5 separate regions of the Homo sapiens genome follow, and all the other regions are linked to region 3. Evidence: promoter capture Hi-C in human tissues and cell types (Jung and others, 2019). All regions are on one chromosome and are shown on one strand. The core of a region is centred on a gene start or on the middle of the fragment in contact, and the rest is flanking DNA. Distances in the headings are between cores, read along the strand shown.

Region 1 (2,700 bases), core at 98-2,597, 360 kb after region 3:
CGAGATTGCGCCACTGCACTCCAGCCTGGGCAACAGAGCGAGACTCTGTCTCAAAAAAAAAAAAATAATAATAATACTGAGTAAGATGGAGCTTACATGGTGGGATTATTAGGAGTTGAAGATAAATAATGCACTAGAGTGAACAACCTAATTCCTGGCATGTAGTTAGTAAATGAGAGGTTTTTGGTTTTTTTGTTTTGTTTTGTTTTGTTTTGCTTTGCTTTGCTTTGTTTTGGTGATGTCGTTATTATCATGCTTGAATGAGCCCATGACTGAATCTTGTATGGACTGGAGAAGTGTTTAGGCAGATGCTGAATTATCAGTGTCCATGAAATCAGCGTCTCTCCTAATGAGAGATGGGGGATTGGAGGAAACGAATCGTAACTCCTTTTTCCTTTCCTTTCAATGTCTTTGTATATTTTATTAAAAGTTGCTAAAAAAAAAAAACCACTTTCAAAAACATCCCATCACATGTCATTGTAGGGAAGCAAAAATGAGAAAAACACTTGATATTTTTTCCTCTAACCATTTTATCGGAACTGAATCCCGCTTTATTTGCTGAGGCTGCAGTAGTTTATTCATTCTATATTGATCAGACTCCAGATTTGCGTGGACAACTTAACTTATAACATTTTAAGTAAAATCATGCATTTTAGGCAGACAGACATCTCACTTTTTAGTATATATTCCTTCTTCTAGAGGATTATTTGGTGTGTGTCTGCGTGTGACCGTGTGTGTTTATTGAAAGGAAACAGTTCCGTGTTTAGAGTTTTGGGTTGTTAGTTAGAGGTCTAGTTAAGCTATAAAATTACAGTGGAATAAGTGATGACAGCCAGTTAGTACAGTTCCCTCTTATAGCTGAACTGAGCTTAACACACCAACAGAAATGTTTGGCAAATAGACTGCTAAAATGACTCTTTCCTTTGTGGGGACATAAGTTGCCTGACATTTACATGTTTATAATGAGTCCTGGAAGTAGAAATGAAAATATGTGCAGAAAATAGATTTCTATCATCACTTCCTTTTCTTATTGAGGGTAGCATTGTCCAGTACGTTTTTGTCATCTCTGTGCTTTCTTGTTGTCCACCCATACAGGAAGAATGTTGGTGAAAAGCACAGAAACCAGTGACGTTTGTGGCTGTGGAATTTCCATGGAGAAAAGAGAGCATCTGAACACCTGGACCATCTTTTGCACCTGGCAGACCCTCTGCACTCACCCCAGCGTGTTCTGTGAACTTGAGTGACAACGCGTGCTTGCAGGGTGCTTTTTGGACGACTGGGGAAGAGGTGGGGAGGGGGTGGTGGGGGGAAGCATGGACGAGAACATGGAGCAAATGTTTTACAACCTGAACCTCAGAACTGTGATCCTCCAAGGAGCGCGCTACTTGAAGAAAAGAAAAAAAAAAAAAAAAAGTCGAATGGCTTCTCAGGGATTTTGTTTTCCGTGCACATATAAGCCATAGTTACAGTACAGGTGGCAGTATTTAGAGCACTCAGATTTCAGTTCTGTTAAATGTGAAAGAGGGATCGACTGACGTTCATTGCTGTTCCATAACTAGTGTAAAATATGTATATGTTTATCTTTATTTTTATAATATGCAAATACATTTAAATTTATACAGTTTGAAGCTTCTAGCGTTAGTTCACACTGGGTGCAATATTCTGCATGAGAACTGTGCCAAGATGGGGCTGATTTCTTATTTTAGTATAAGACTTTTTTGTTTTTTCTTTATTCTTTAATCCTCTTCACATTAAAAAAAAAATCTCTCTGTTAGCCCATGGATTAAGTGTTGGTTCATAGAGATTGCCAATAATCAGAAAGAACCTTAAATGTGCATTTAAGACAGTGTCCCTTCCCTTCTTTTCAATGAAGGTCCCTGCCTATATAAATCATCTGGCACGCTGGTGGGAAATCCTTTGCTCTTCCAACGTGTTATTAGTGCTGGGCAGAGATGGGGCACACTCAGGGGCCAAAGAGGACAAAAAGTCCATGCAAAACTTGAGTCTTTTAATGGCTTAAGATAATCAGGAGTCAGTTCTGAATCTTACAAAGTGCTCTGCTTAATAAGTACCTTACTTAGCAGAGCACTTTGCAAACATATTACTTATTAGCAGAGCTCTTTGTAGACCTTCCACATCTGGCTGTCAGATCTTAAGGTTGTGAATTTAGGCTCCAGTTACATTCACTGGAGAGCATAATCCCACACGGGTTATTTATAAATACAGAGCCTCTGATTGGACGGTCTCCTGCCAAGAACTAGTAATACCCTTGTTTTAAAATCTTCACAAGGTAAAACTTAAAAAGCCAACCAAACAAATTGCTCTCCATTCTACTTTTAATTGGGCCAAACAGCATATGCTACAGTAGTAACATGTTTTTCGGAGAGTGTAAAAAACTCTGTTTACATTTGCCTCCTCCGTGGGTTGATCGAAAATGTATAAAACTGACTGCTTCTCGCCAGCCTCAGACAAGAAGAGTGAGTTGCTGGTACTCGCTACTCTTTTACTTCTTTTGTAAAGTATTGACTCTTGGAAGGCTACAGTATACAAAGTCTCAACATGTTTTTTAAAAGAAATAAGGAGCAAGCGACTGCCCTGCTAGAAATCACAAACCGATTTTTGTAGAATATTTTGTGCCCCAGGCATTAATTTCACTGACTCCAGAACCTGCAGTTCAGAGAATGATTTCTTATGATGATA
Region 2 (2,700 bases), core at 2-2,501, 390 kb after region 3:
GCAACATAGCAAGATCTTGTCTCATAAAAAAAAAAAAAAAAGGATTATAAAATACAGATGCTAAGAGGGATTGTGTTAGTAAACCCATTTTATTTTTGACATGTAGTGCTATAGATGCTTTCAAACACTATCCCTTTAAAGGTTGCCTTTTTTGGACTCATAGGTCACAGCACACTGAGGTTACAGCAGTGGAAGTTGGAGCGCTATGGAAAGCAATTAGCAATATCTGTTAAAAGTCATTAAAGCATCCAAATCCCTTCATCAAGTAACTCTACTCTCAGACGTCTATCCCAACATTATAAAGAGATGGTCAAAAATGTATGTATAAAAGATGTTTCCAACAAAAATTAAAAGCAACAGCAGGAAAATGATTCAGCACAGTATGTGATAGAAAATGTCACTAAAATGATGCTTCTGAAGACTGTTCTAATAATATACAGAAATTTGTATGCAGTCTTAGTAAAGAAATGAGGTTGTGAGTTTTGCATACAATATTTTTCAACACACGTGAAGACAAATGCAAGACAAAAAGTTAACAGAGGGGGCCGGCACAACGGCTGACACCTGTAATCCCAGCACTTTGGGAGGCGAAGGTGGGTGGATTGCTTGAGCCCAGGAGTTTGAGTCCACCTTGGGCAACACGGCAAAACCCTGTCTCTACAAAAAATAAAAAAGTTAGCCAGGCATGCTGGTGCACATCTGTTGTCCCAGCTACTCCGGAGGCCGTGGTGGGAAGATCCCTTGAACCTGGGAGGCAGAGTGCTGAGATCGGGCCACTGTACTCCAGCCTGGATGACGGAGTGAGAGACTGTCTCAAAAAGATAAGGCTGGGTGCAGTGGTTCATGCTTGTAATCCCAGCATTTTGGGAGGCCGAGGTGGGCAGATGACTTGAGGTGAGGAGATCGAGACCAGCCTGGCCAACATGGTGATGCCCCATTCTTACTTAAAATACAAAAATTAGGCGGGCTTTGGTGGCATGTGCCATAGTCCCAGCTAGTCAGGATGCTGAGGCAAGAGAATCACTTGAACTTGGGAAGTGGAGGTTGCAGTGAGTAGAGATCATGCCACTGCACTCCAGCCTGGGTGACAGAGCAAGACTTCATCTCAATAAAAATAAAATAAAATAAAATAAAATAAAATAAAAAGATAAAAAGCTAACAGATTACTTTAGATTTGGGAGGATGGGTTATTTTTCCCTTCTCCTTAATACTTCACTCTGTTTCACAAACACCCACAATAAGCTTTACCTTAAAGCTTTTATAATTATAAATTTTTAAAATTATAAAAGTCATTTAAGAAACACAGCTGCTGTTCGTCCCTTAATTACTTGTTCCTTATTTGAGATTGCCTTGTCTCCCAGCTGGTCACCTGGTTCCTCTCTCCCTGCAGAACATCAAAGCTACAGAATTGACTTCTGCTGGTGTTGACTACGAATGTCACAGCCCATAAAGCCAGGTTTAATGGAAAATCCCAAGGTGGTGGGGACAACAGCCTATTTATTTTCAAATGATTATTTTAAGGATAACAGAAAGAAACACAGCAAGATGGGCCTTCATGGATGACTCTGGCTCTGAATCCCTGAGCAAAGTCAAGGGCCAGAGAGAGCAAACCAGTGCCAGCACACCTTGATCCTACAGGAAGGCAAGGATGGTTTCATACTTTTTTGGAACAGGCTTTTCTGCAGGAACTCCAAACTCTTGGAAGATTCCAGTGTTTTCCCCCTAAGTTAACCCATCCTAAAATAGTCAAGGTGGGGCCAAGGAAAATCAGAGAGCAGACTTTAAGCTTTGGATTTTTGGGCCACATCCAGTGTATGGCTTTTTCCACAAGTTTGTCTTATGGGGTAACAGCAAGTATACTTTGAAGGCATATCCCCCAGGGTAGTTACATCTCTGAATAATGAAATTATTGGCAGTGTTATTTTCTTTTTGATGCTTTTCTGTATTTTCTAATCTTTTTGAGTGAGTTTGTGTTGCTTTTATAAGGAAAAGAATACTTTTTATTTTTAACATCATAACTGAGGGTGATATATGAAAAAGGTGCATAGGAAAGAAGACTCAGAAGGTGGTGAAGTAAGACTTTATATATATCTTATTTATAATAAATAAGATATATCTTATTTATAATAAATAAGATATATCTTATTTATAATAAATAATATTACATATCTCTTATTTATAATAAATAATATACATATCTTATTTATAATAAATAATATTATATATATATAAAATACTTCCTTTGCATTTCCTAATTACTTTGTAATGGAACTACCTTCCATTTCCCATCAGAAAAATATACATTTATTGAAATGTACCTGAGTCCTAAAGTTCTAAGTGAACTCTAGAGAAATGTTTATTTTCATGGATAGATATTATTTTATTTCTGGGGTGGGAGGAGCAATTCATTGGCTCCAGATCATTAGACATCCACACAACTCAAGCTTGATGCTGTCGTAAGTATTTACTAAGCATTTTACTTAGGACTGCACTAGTCTATTTGTTTCACTCATTTATTCATGCAACATACATTTCGGATATTCTATACTTAACAAAAATTGAGACAGAGTCTTGCTCTGTTACCCAGGCTGGAATACAGTGGCATGATCATAGCTCACTGCAGCCTCGAACTCCTGGGCTTAAGTCATCCTCCTGCCTCAGCCTCCCAAGTAGCTGGGACTACAGGTGTGCACCATCACA
Region 3 (2,700 bases), core at 126-2,625:
CTAAGACCATTTTCTATAGATCTCAAGGTGCATAATATGCATCGCGGAGGCCCTGTAGATTTAGATAGCGATTATAACCGATTCAAGTCAGGAAATTTCTTCTGAAGTATACCTACCTGTGAAACCCTCCATATCTGGGGCGCTCTGTGCCACGGGTGTCAGACTTTTGCAAAAGCCCTGTCATTCTAACGGGACGCCCTCCTGTAGGAAGTTGCCCCCTGGCGCCCGTCCTCCGGCTTCTGATGAAACGGCGACCCACCACCCCCTTCCCAGACCCTGGCCCGCAGCCGGATCACTCCGGGCGCGCTGCCGATCACGTGGCGAAGCGGTGCTCCCCAGCGCCGTGGCTGCGCGCCCATTGGTCGGCGGCTGGAGTCCCGGGCGCGCCCATTGGCTGCGGGGGGCGTTCACGTGGCAGGGGGCCTGGGATGGACCCCGGGGTCCCGAGAGCTGGCAGGAAAGTTAAAGGGGGCAGCGCGGCCGCGGGGAGCTCGAGTCCCGGGTGACTGCTGGAGGGAGGAGGTGACCGCGCAGCTCTCGTGCACGGACGGACTTCGCCGCCCGCGGGGGGCGCGAACCCGAGCCCGGGCCCAGCTCCTGCCGTCACGGCAGCTGTCCCTGTTCCCCCAGGGCGTATGCTGCCGCGGGCTGGCGCGTCTGCCCTCGGGACTTATGAGCTGAACCCGGTACGTAGCTCCCCAAGTCTCGAGTCCGAGGGAAGGGCTGGGGACAACAAGGCGAGGGCGTGCAGCGGGGACCTCTTTGGGTTCCTGTCACCTACATTTTCACCGTGCGACTTGCACTGGCACACCGGGGCTGGAACACTCTAGGTAGCTGGCCCCAGGGAGCTGTTGCTTCAGCGTGGAGAGGGCGATCCAGGGACCGCAGCTGGGAAGCGCCTCCCGGGCCCACGTGCTCCACCGCGCTGCTGGGCCCGGCTGCGACCGTGACCCGGGAGCTGCGGCTGCGGCGGCTGATCCCTTTACCACCTGTTGTTCTGGCTTCGAAACTAGCACAAGTTCCCAGCCCCGGGTCCCGAGAGGTCTGGAGACTTCTCCAAAGTTGGGTAGTGGGGTTTGGAGCTTAAGGACAAGCCGCTTCGTCTCTCTCCGGGCCTTATTTTCCCTATAAAACGCGAGGAAATACACTTGGTAGGCTCTCAGGCCACCGAGGGCGACGGGACCTAGCACGATCCCCGTCCCGGGCTGGCGGAGGCCAGGCGGCCGCGCGGGGGTGCTGGTGTCGCGCTGCTTGCTCCGGCCGGGGTTGCCCCTTTGCCGGCCCCGCCCGGGTGCGATAACGGGCTCCTCCTCCTCGTCGTCTTCCTCCCACCGCCGACATCTCCGGGAACCCAGCCCAGGCCCTGCCTCCCGGACACACCGACGCTCACGTAGTCGCGCTTGCCACAACCCTGCGGGCTCTCCGATGCGGCGAGCGAGCTGGGGAGGGGGCTTCTCCGCGGCCCAAAAGGTGGGTGCGGCGCGAGGCCAAGGAGGCTTGTAGGGAGGTTGGGGGCGGAGTGCAGCCCTGGTCAAACTGGACGGAGGGGACAGAGTCGGAGAGTAACTTGTGGGATCCTCCAGCCTGGAGAGCACTGGCCTGCTCCTGCGTCTCTTTGGAATCCAGAAAAAGGGGTGTGGAAGGCACAGTAGCTGCAAAAGAGGGAGTGGGGGCCGGTAATGACTTACTGGAAGATTTGGGGCCTGTCAGAGCACTGTTTTCTGAAAAAGAGGAGAAAACAGAGGAAAGACTGGACTTGGGAACTTGGAGACTTGGAAGGTGTTGGAACCTGTGGTCTGAGTGGCGGGGGCCTGCCTGGGAGACCCAGGGTGCAGCAGAAGAGACAATTAGAGCTTTGGTCTGGGAGGAAGAGGAGGAGAGGAGGAAATGTTTCCTTGGGCAGAGTTGTCCAGGAGCCAAAACTAAAGTGAAGACAGCTGGAGGACTTACACAAAAGTACAGTTGAGGTATTTAGGAAAAAAAGTTAGTGGGAAGAGAAGCGGCACCAGGGGTGGGTCGCAACATACAATGTCAGGGCCAGCAGGGACCTTGGAGGGGACCTCAAGCCCAGAGCAGCTGAGTGACTCGCTCAAGTAGCAAAGCAAGGTGCGGGCATTCTTAGCCTAGTACTCTGTTTTCCCTCGTACGTTTTTAGACGGCAGGGGCTGTGTCATTTGAACTTGCCTCTTTCCTAGAATATGCAACTGTATTCACAAATGTCAGTCTCCAAGATGCTTTGGATGATGGGGACAGGATCAAGGGGTACAAGGAGCCTTTAAGGCTGTGAATAGGCCCCCATGGTCTGAGTACAAAGGGGAAAGACATGCACTCTCTTCATGCTGGATCAGTGAAACCTTTTGGAAGGGAACACAGAATTGTTGGAGGGAGGTAGATGGCCATGTCTTTAAAAATGAAAATTATAACCTGGTTGTGAATGTTTACTGAATGCAGTTCGGCAGCTTTCAGTGTTCCTGGTGGGTTGCTTGTGCATCTGATTTTTTTGTTTGTTTGGTTTTGTTTGTTTGTTTTGAGACGGAGTGTCGCTCTGTCGCCCAGGCTGGAGTGCAGTGGCGCCATCTCTGGCTCATTGTAAGCTCCGCCTCCCGGGTTCACGCCATTCTCCTGCCTCGGCCTCCTGAGTAGCTGGGACTACAGGCGCCCGCCACCACGCCCAGCTAATTTTTATTTGTATTTTTAGTA
Region 4 (2,700 bases), core at 3-2,502, 310 kb before region 3:
TTTCACAGTTCCTCCTTTTCAGAGCTTCCTTAGCTATTCTTGCTTATTTATTTTTCTATAAGAATGTTGTTACCACTTGCCTACCTCCAGAAAAATAAAAGCTTATTTTAAAAACTATGATTGCATTATATTTATAACTAAACTCAGGGAGAACTCACATCATTATGATGTTGAAATGTCCTATTCAAGAACAAGGAAGGTCTTTTGCTTAGGAATTCATTAAAATTTGTATTAGAATTTTAAATTAATTAGAACTCTAAGTCCAGTTGAATTAACATGGTATGATTAAACCCAAGGGTATCATATTAGAGGAATTATGATCACCATGTGGACACATATGCACATCATATTCTCTCCCAAATGCAAGTTTACAGAATACACACAAACTCTAATGTATTTCCTTTGAACAGGATCTTGTAGAAGAACTTAAAATTGCCCATTGAGCTATAAACATTTAACTTTCCTTCCAAAATGAAATAAAAATAACACAGGAGGCATGACCTTTTGCAAAATATGTGATTTGAAAAGCTCATTAAAAATGCAGGATGTTATTCTGATCCTACAAACATTGACCTCAGATGAAGGAAAGGTTCTTCAAAACAGATAGAAAGATCAGAGCTGAATTGCTGATGACCTAATGCAGAATAGTTTCATTCCTGCATATGGAGGTTAGCAACTCTAAGTTATTATTATATATAAAAACTTGTCATTTGTGTGAGAGAAGTACCTCCTTGCTCACAAAATCTGTTTTTTACTCTTGTGGTATGACTCATGAAAAGAATTTTAGAAAGAGCTTATTTTTGAACTTACCTTTGAAATTATTGTCATTCAATACTGATTCACTATTGTGCTTGTGGCCATTTGATAAACTGCCACATAACCACAGGGATGCTGGGAAGACCAGGTGGGCCTCACTGTCGCCAGGAGACAGAGGTCACCGAGACAGTAAGTTCTTCTACCACGGATCATTAGGCACAAAAACAAGCCATGCATAAAGCTCATTGTTTCAAAGGGCTTGACCACAAAGGAGTGAGCTCTTAAAATGTTGAATGTCTAAACATTAAAATACGATACCAAAAGCCCTGTGACATCCAGAAGGCTGTGGACTTTTGGTTTTGAATTTATGAGCTGTATTCATTTCTCCCCTCAATGTGATTTCCTGGGCAATTGCCTTACCCACTCATTTCTCTCATGAAATGTTACTTGCTATTTGTATTTCTTTCACTTACTCTTTGCTCTTTAGCCCAGTGTTTGAAATGTTGGATTCTATAGTCAGACATATATGGATTGAAACGCTCTCTGCCATGGTCCTGGCTGTGTCCCTGGGTGAAGAACTTAACATTTCTTGTGGCTTCGGTTCCTCTATTGCAAAATTGGGACTATATTGGTAGTGACTTATGGAGTTAATGTGCAGATTAAATTAGATAACATATACAAAGAGTAGTCCAAAGTGTTTGCTATGTTGGCAGTGAAGTCCAATAGATACAGCTGTTATTGTTATTTAATCTTTTGTTTGTTATTTAAAAATTTTTCAGTTACACAAATAATTAGAGAAAATTTAGAAAATTTGAGGAAAACAATAAACAATAATCCTATTCACCAAAACAATCACTTCTGTCATTATTGTATTGCTATTCATTCTTTTTAAAACAATGTTTTTTGAATTCTGTTTTCATCACTTGGCATCTTTACATTGTCCTTTAAAAAAAATTGAGACAGGGTCTTCCTCTGTCATTCAGGCTGGAGTGTGATGGCGTGACCACAGCTCACTGTAACCTCTGACCTCCTGGGCCCAAGTGATCCTTTTGCCTCAGGCTTCCAAGTAGCTGGGACTACAGGTGTGCACTACCACGCCTGGCTAATTTTTCCTTTTTCTTTTTTGTACAGACAGAGTCTCACTATGTTGCCCAGGATAGTCTCAAACTCCTGGGCTCAAGCAATCCTCCCACCTCAGGCTCCCAAAGTGCTGGGATTACAGGTGTGAGCCACCACACCCAGCCTACATTCTACATTTTATGCTACAAAACAGTCTTTGTAATTATTTTTAATGACTACATGATAATTTTATTAAGAAGGTGGACACTAATTTACTTGTTGGCTGATATACTAATGAATATTTTGGTGATTTTAATTTTTTTCTGTTAGTAATATTTCTGTGCAATGATAAGTATATTACATAGATTTATTCCTCTATAATTGTATTTTTCTCTGGGATATACTTATAGAATTGAAATTATTGAGTCAAGGATAGACACTTTTCATGGCTCTTAACACATATTATAAATCATTTTACTAAAAGTATTATTTCAGTTTGCCATGTCAGCAGCAAAAGTTAATTTGGAATAGTTTTTTTTAATGATGAAAGGATTTTTTTGTTTCTTAAATGTTTGCAATAATTTAATACTGAAGGCATTGTGGCTTGAAATATTCTATTGCGCTTAGCCCTCTGATAACATTTCTTATTTTTCTCCTGGTTATTTGCTTAGTCTGCTGGAGCACAGATCCCTGGCTGGGGCCCAGTATCCATTCTTCTCTTCTCCTTGGCAGTAGAATTTTGGATGTTTAGCTTACATATAGCCAATGAATTAAGACTACACTTTCCAGCTTCCTTTGCAGCTATGTGTAGCGATGTGAATCAGTATTGGTGAATGAAGAGTGTATTCGTATCTAGTAATAATATTATCACAATAGCAGCTTAAA
Region 5 (2,700 bases), core at 96-2,595, 300 kb before region 3:
CAAGTGACTCAGACTTCAACATCTTACAGTGTGTGTATGTGACTCCTTTTTTGTTATGGGGTAAAGTAGTCCAAACTTCTGCAAACCACAAATCTAATAGAGATCAAAACAGCAAGTTAAAAATTGGATCCATACTTTGGTTAAACAGGGTGTTATATAGATTCATTAATGACTTTTGCCACCAAAATTTTTCCAAAGAGATACTCTGCACATGGAGGATAAGAGCACTAAATATCTTAAGATCATCCTGAAGTTTAATTCCCTGCGGTTCTGGTCTCTGGGAACTGTTTAGCTCTTCCAAGCTTCACATTCTCCAAACTTTCAAAGGGATGTCAGCCTCAGATGGGATGATCCTCTGGGAAAACAGAGCTCCATAAATACATCAAGTCTAATTATCAGCATGAAAAATCCTTTCTGAGGATGCCTGGTGGTAGTCAGGATCAGAACACAGGAGGAAAGGAAAGGGCGGAAAGAGATGAGAGATGAAAGAATCATGTTAGCTGGAACGTGGCCCATGGCCCATCCAAACGAAAAGCGTAGACATTTATGTTTGGCTATTAGTTATCTGTGTGCTTCCTCTTCTTCCTTGTGAAATGGCTGGACTCCTCTGCAACTGCTGTGCTTTCTCTCCTTCTTTCTTTTCTCTTCTTTTTTTTTTTTTTTTTTTTTTGAGATGGAGTCTGGCTGTGTCACCCAGGCTGGAGTGCAGTGACGCAATCTCAGCTCACTGCAAGCTGTGACTCCCAGGTTCACGCCATTCTCCTGACTCAGCCTCCCGAGTAGCTGGGATTACAGGCGCCCGCCACCACCCCCGGCTAATTTTTTGTATTTTTAGTAGAGACGAGGTTTCACTGTGTTAGCCAGGATGGTCTCGATCTCCTGACCTCGTGACCGCCTGCCTTGGCCTCCCAAAGTGTTGGGATTACAGGCGTGAGCCACTGTGCCCGGCCAACTGCTGTGCTTTTTCAAAAATGCCTTTGAGGGGCAAGAAATAAATATCTAGACATAGTTTTAATGGGATATTCTTTATCCCATTCACTCACAGAAGTTCCTATGCTCAGCTAATAGATTGTGAGCCACTTGAGGGCAGGGACATTTTGTTTGACATCTCTAGCTCCTTTTTTCTCTGAATTCCTTCTTACTCTCCACGATCAGGTTCATGTTGCTTCTTGAAGGAATCTTCAGCCGAGTTCTAAATAATTTTTTAATTAGAAAATTAGGTGTGGGGAGATCATCTGGGGAGGTTCCAAGATGGCCGAATAGGAACAGCTCCAGTCTACAGCTCCCAGCGTGAGCAACGCAGAAGATGGGTGATTTCTGCATTTCCAACTGAGGTACCAAGTTCATCTCACTGGGGCTCATTGGACAGTGGGGGCAGGACAGTAGGTGCAGCCCACTGAGCGTAAGCCAAAGCAGGGCGAGGCATCGCCTCACGTGGGAAGCTCAAGGGGTCAGGGAATTCCCTTTCCTAGCCAAGGGAAGGGGTGACAGACGGTACCTGGAAAATTGGGTCACTCCCACCCTAATACTACGCTTTTCCAATGGTCTTCACAAACAGTACACCAGGAGATTATATCCCGCACCTGGCTCGGAGGGTCCCACGCCCATGGAACCTCCCTCATTGCTAGCACAGCAGTCTGAGATAGAAATGCCAGGTGGCAGCAAGGCTGGGGGAGGAGCACCCGCCATTGCTGAGGCTTGAGTAGGTAAACAAAGCCTCCAGGAAGCCCAAACTGGGTGGAGCCCACCGCAGCTCAAGGAGGCCTGCCTGCCTCTGTAGACTCCACCTCTGGGGGCAGGGCATAGCCAAACAAAAGGCAGCAGAAACCTCTGCAGACTTAAATGTCCCTGTCTGACAGCTTTGAAGAGAGTAGTGGTTCTCCCAGCATGGAGTTTGAGATCTGAGAACGCACAGACTGCTTTCTCAAGTGGGTCCCTGACCTCCGAGTAGCCCAACTGGGAGGCACTCCCCAGTAGGGGCAGACTGACACCTCACATGGCCAGGTACCCCACTGAGACAAAGCTTCCAGAGGAACCATCAGGCAGAAACATTTGCTATTCAGCAATATTCATTTTTCTGCAGCCTCTGCTGCTGATACCCAGGAAAACAGGGTCTGGAGTGGACCTCCAGCAAACTCCATCAGACCTGCAGCTGAGGATCCTGACTGTTAGAAGGAAAACCAACAAACAGAAAGGACATCCACACCAAAACCCCATCTGTATGTCACCATCATCAAAGACCAAAGGCAGATAAAACCACAATGATAGGGAAAAAACAGAACAGAAAAGCTGAAAATTCTAAAAATCAGAGCACTTCTCCCCCTCCAAAGGAACGCAGCTCCTTGACAGCAACGGAACAAAGCTTCATGGAGAATGACTTTGACGAGTTGAGAGAAGAAGGCTTCAGACGATCAAACTTCTCCAAGCTAAAGGAGGAAGTTCGAACCCAACGCAAAGAAGTTAAAAACCTTGAAAAAAGATTAGACGAATGGCTAACTAGAATAACCAGTGTAGAGAAGTCCTTAAATGACCTGACTGAGCTGAAAAACATGGCACGAGAACTACCTGATGAATACATAAGCTTCGGTAACCGATTTGATCAACTGGAAGAAAGGGTATCAGTGACTGAAGATCAAATGAATGAAATGAAGGGAGAAGAGAAGTTTAGAGAAAAAAGAGTAAAAAGAAATGAACAAAGCC

Evidence for each region. The method cuts DNA at HindIII sites, captures the fragments that hold promoters and counts their contacts. A contact is called where the count stands out against the background at its distance.
Region 1: a fragment that was not itself captured here is called in contact with the fragment with the promoter of PPP1R3B in region 3 in 1 of the 25 tissues and cell types used here (hippocampus).
Region 2: a contact is called between a fragment that was not itself captured here and the fragment with the promoter of PPP1R3B in region 3, in 1 of the 25 tissues and cell types used here (spleen).
Region 4: a fragment that was not itself captured here is called in contact with the fragment with the promoter of PPP1R3B in region 3 in 1 of the 25 tissues and cell types used here (lymphoblastoid cells).
Region 5: a fragment that was not itself captured here is called in contact with the fragment with the promoter of PPP1R3B in region 3 in 2 of the 25 tissues and cell types used here (aorta and lymphoblastoid cells).

The regions. Positions count from the first base shown.
Region 1 is chr8:8,784,451-8,787,150 of GRCh38, reverse strand. It overlaps MFHAS1 (multifunctional ROCO family signaling regulator 1), which reads left to right. Exons shown (of 3, transcript NM_004225.3): 3 at 1,096-2,700. The coding sequence ends at 1,129. Among named protein-coding and RNA genes, the nearest start is that of CLDN23, 84 kb to the right of the region's middle. The HindIII fragment of the contact is 5,004 bases long and covers 1-2,700 here.
Region 2 is chr8:8,759,592-8,762,291 of GRCh38, reverse strand. No RefSeq gene overlaps it. Among named protein-coding and RNA genes, the nearest start is that of CLDN23, 59 kb to the right of the region's middle. The HindIII fragment of the contact is 4,104 bases long and covers 1-2,700 here.
Region 3 is chr8:9,149,333-9,152,032 of GRCh38, reverse strand. PPP1R3B (protein phosphatase 1 regulatory subunit 3B) reads left to right here and starts at 1,375. Exons shown (of 2, transcript NM_024607.4): 1 at 1,375-1,470. It overlaps PPP1R3B-DT (PPP1R3B divergent transcript), which reads right to left and starts at 308. Exons shown (of 5, transcript NR_183348.1): 1 at 117-308. RefSeq lists silencers at 371-620, 1,121-1,390 and enhancers at 741-980, 1,027-1,975. The HindIII fragment of the contact is 27,491 bases long and covers 1-2,700 here.
Region 4 is chr8:9,462,160-9,464,859 of GRCh38, reverse strand. No RefSeq gene overlaps it. Among named protein-coding and RNA genes, the nearest start is that of TNKS, 92 kb to the left of the region's middle. The HindIII fragment of the contact is 4,800 bases long and covers 1-2,700 here.
Region 5 is chr8:9,445,993-9,448,692 of GRCh38, reverse strand. No RefSeq gene overlaps it. Among named protein-coding and RNA genes, the nearest start is that of TNKS, 110 kb to the left of the region's middle. The HindIII fragment of the contact is 5,447 bases long and covers 1-2,700 here.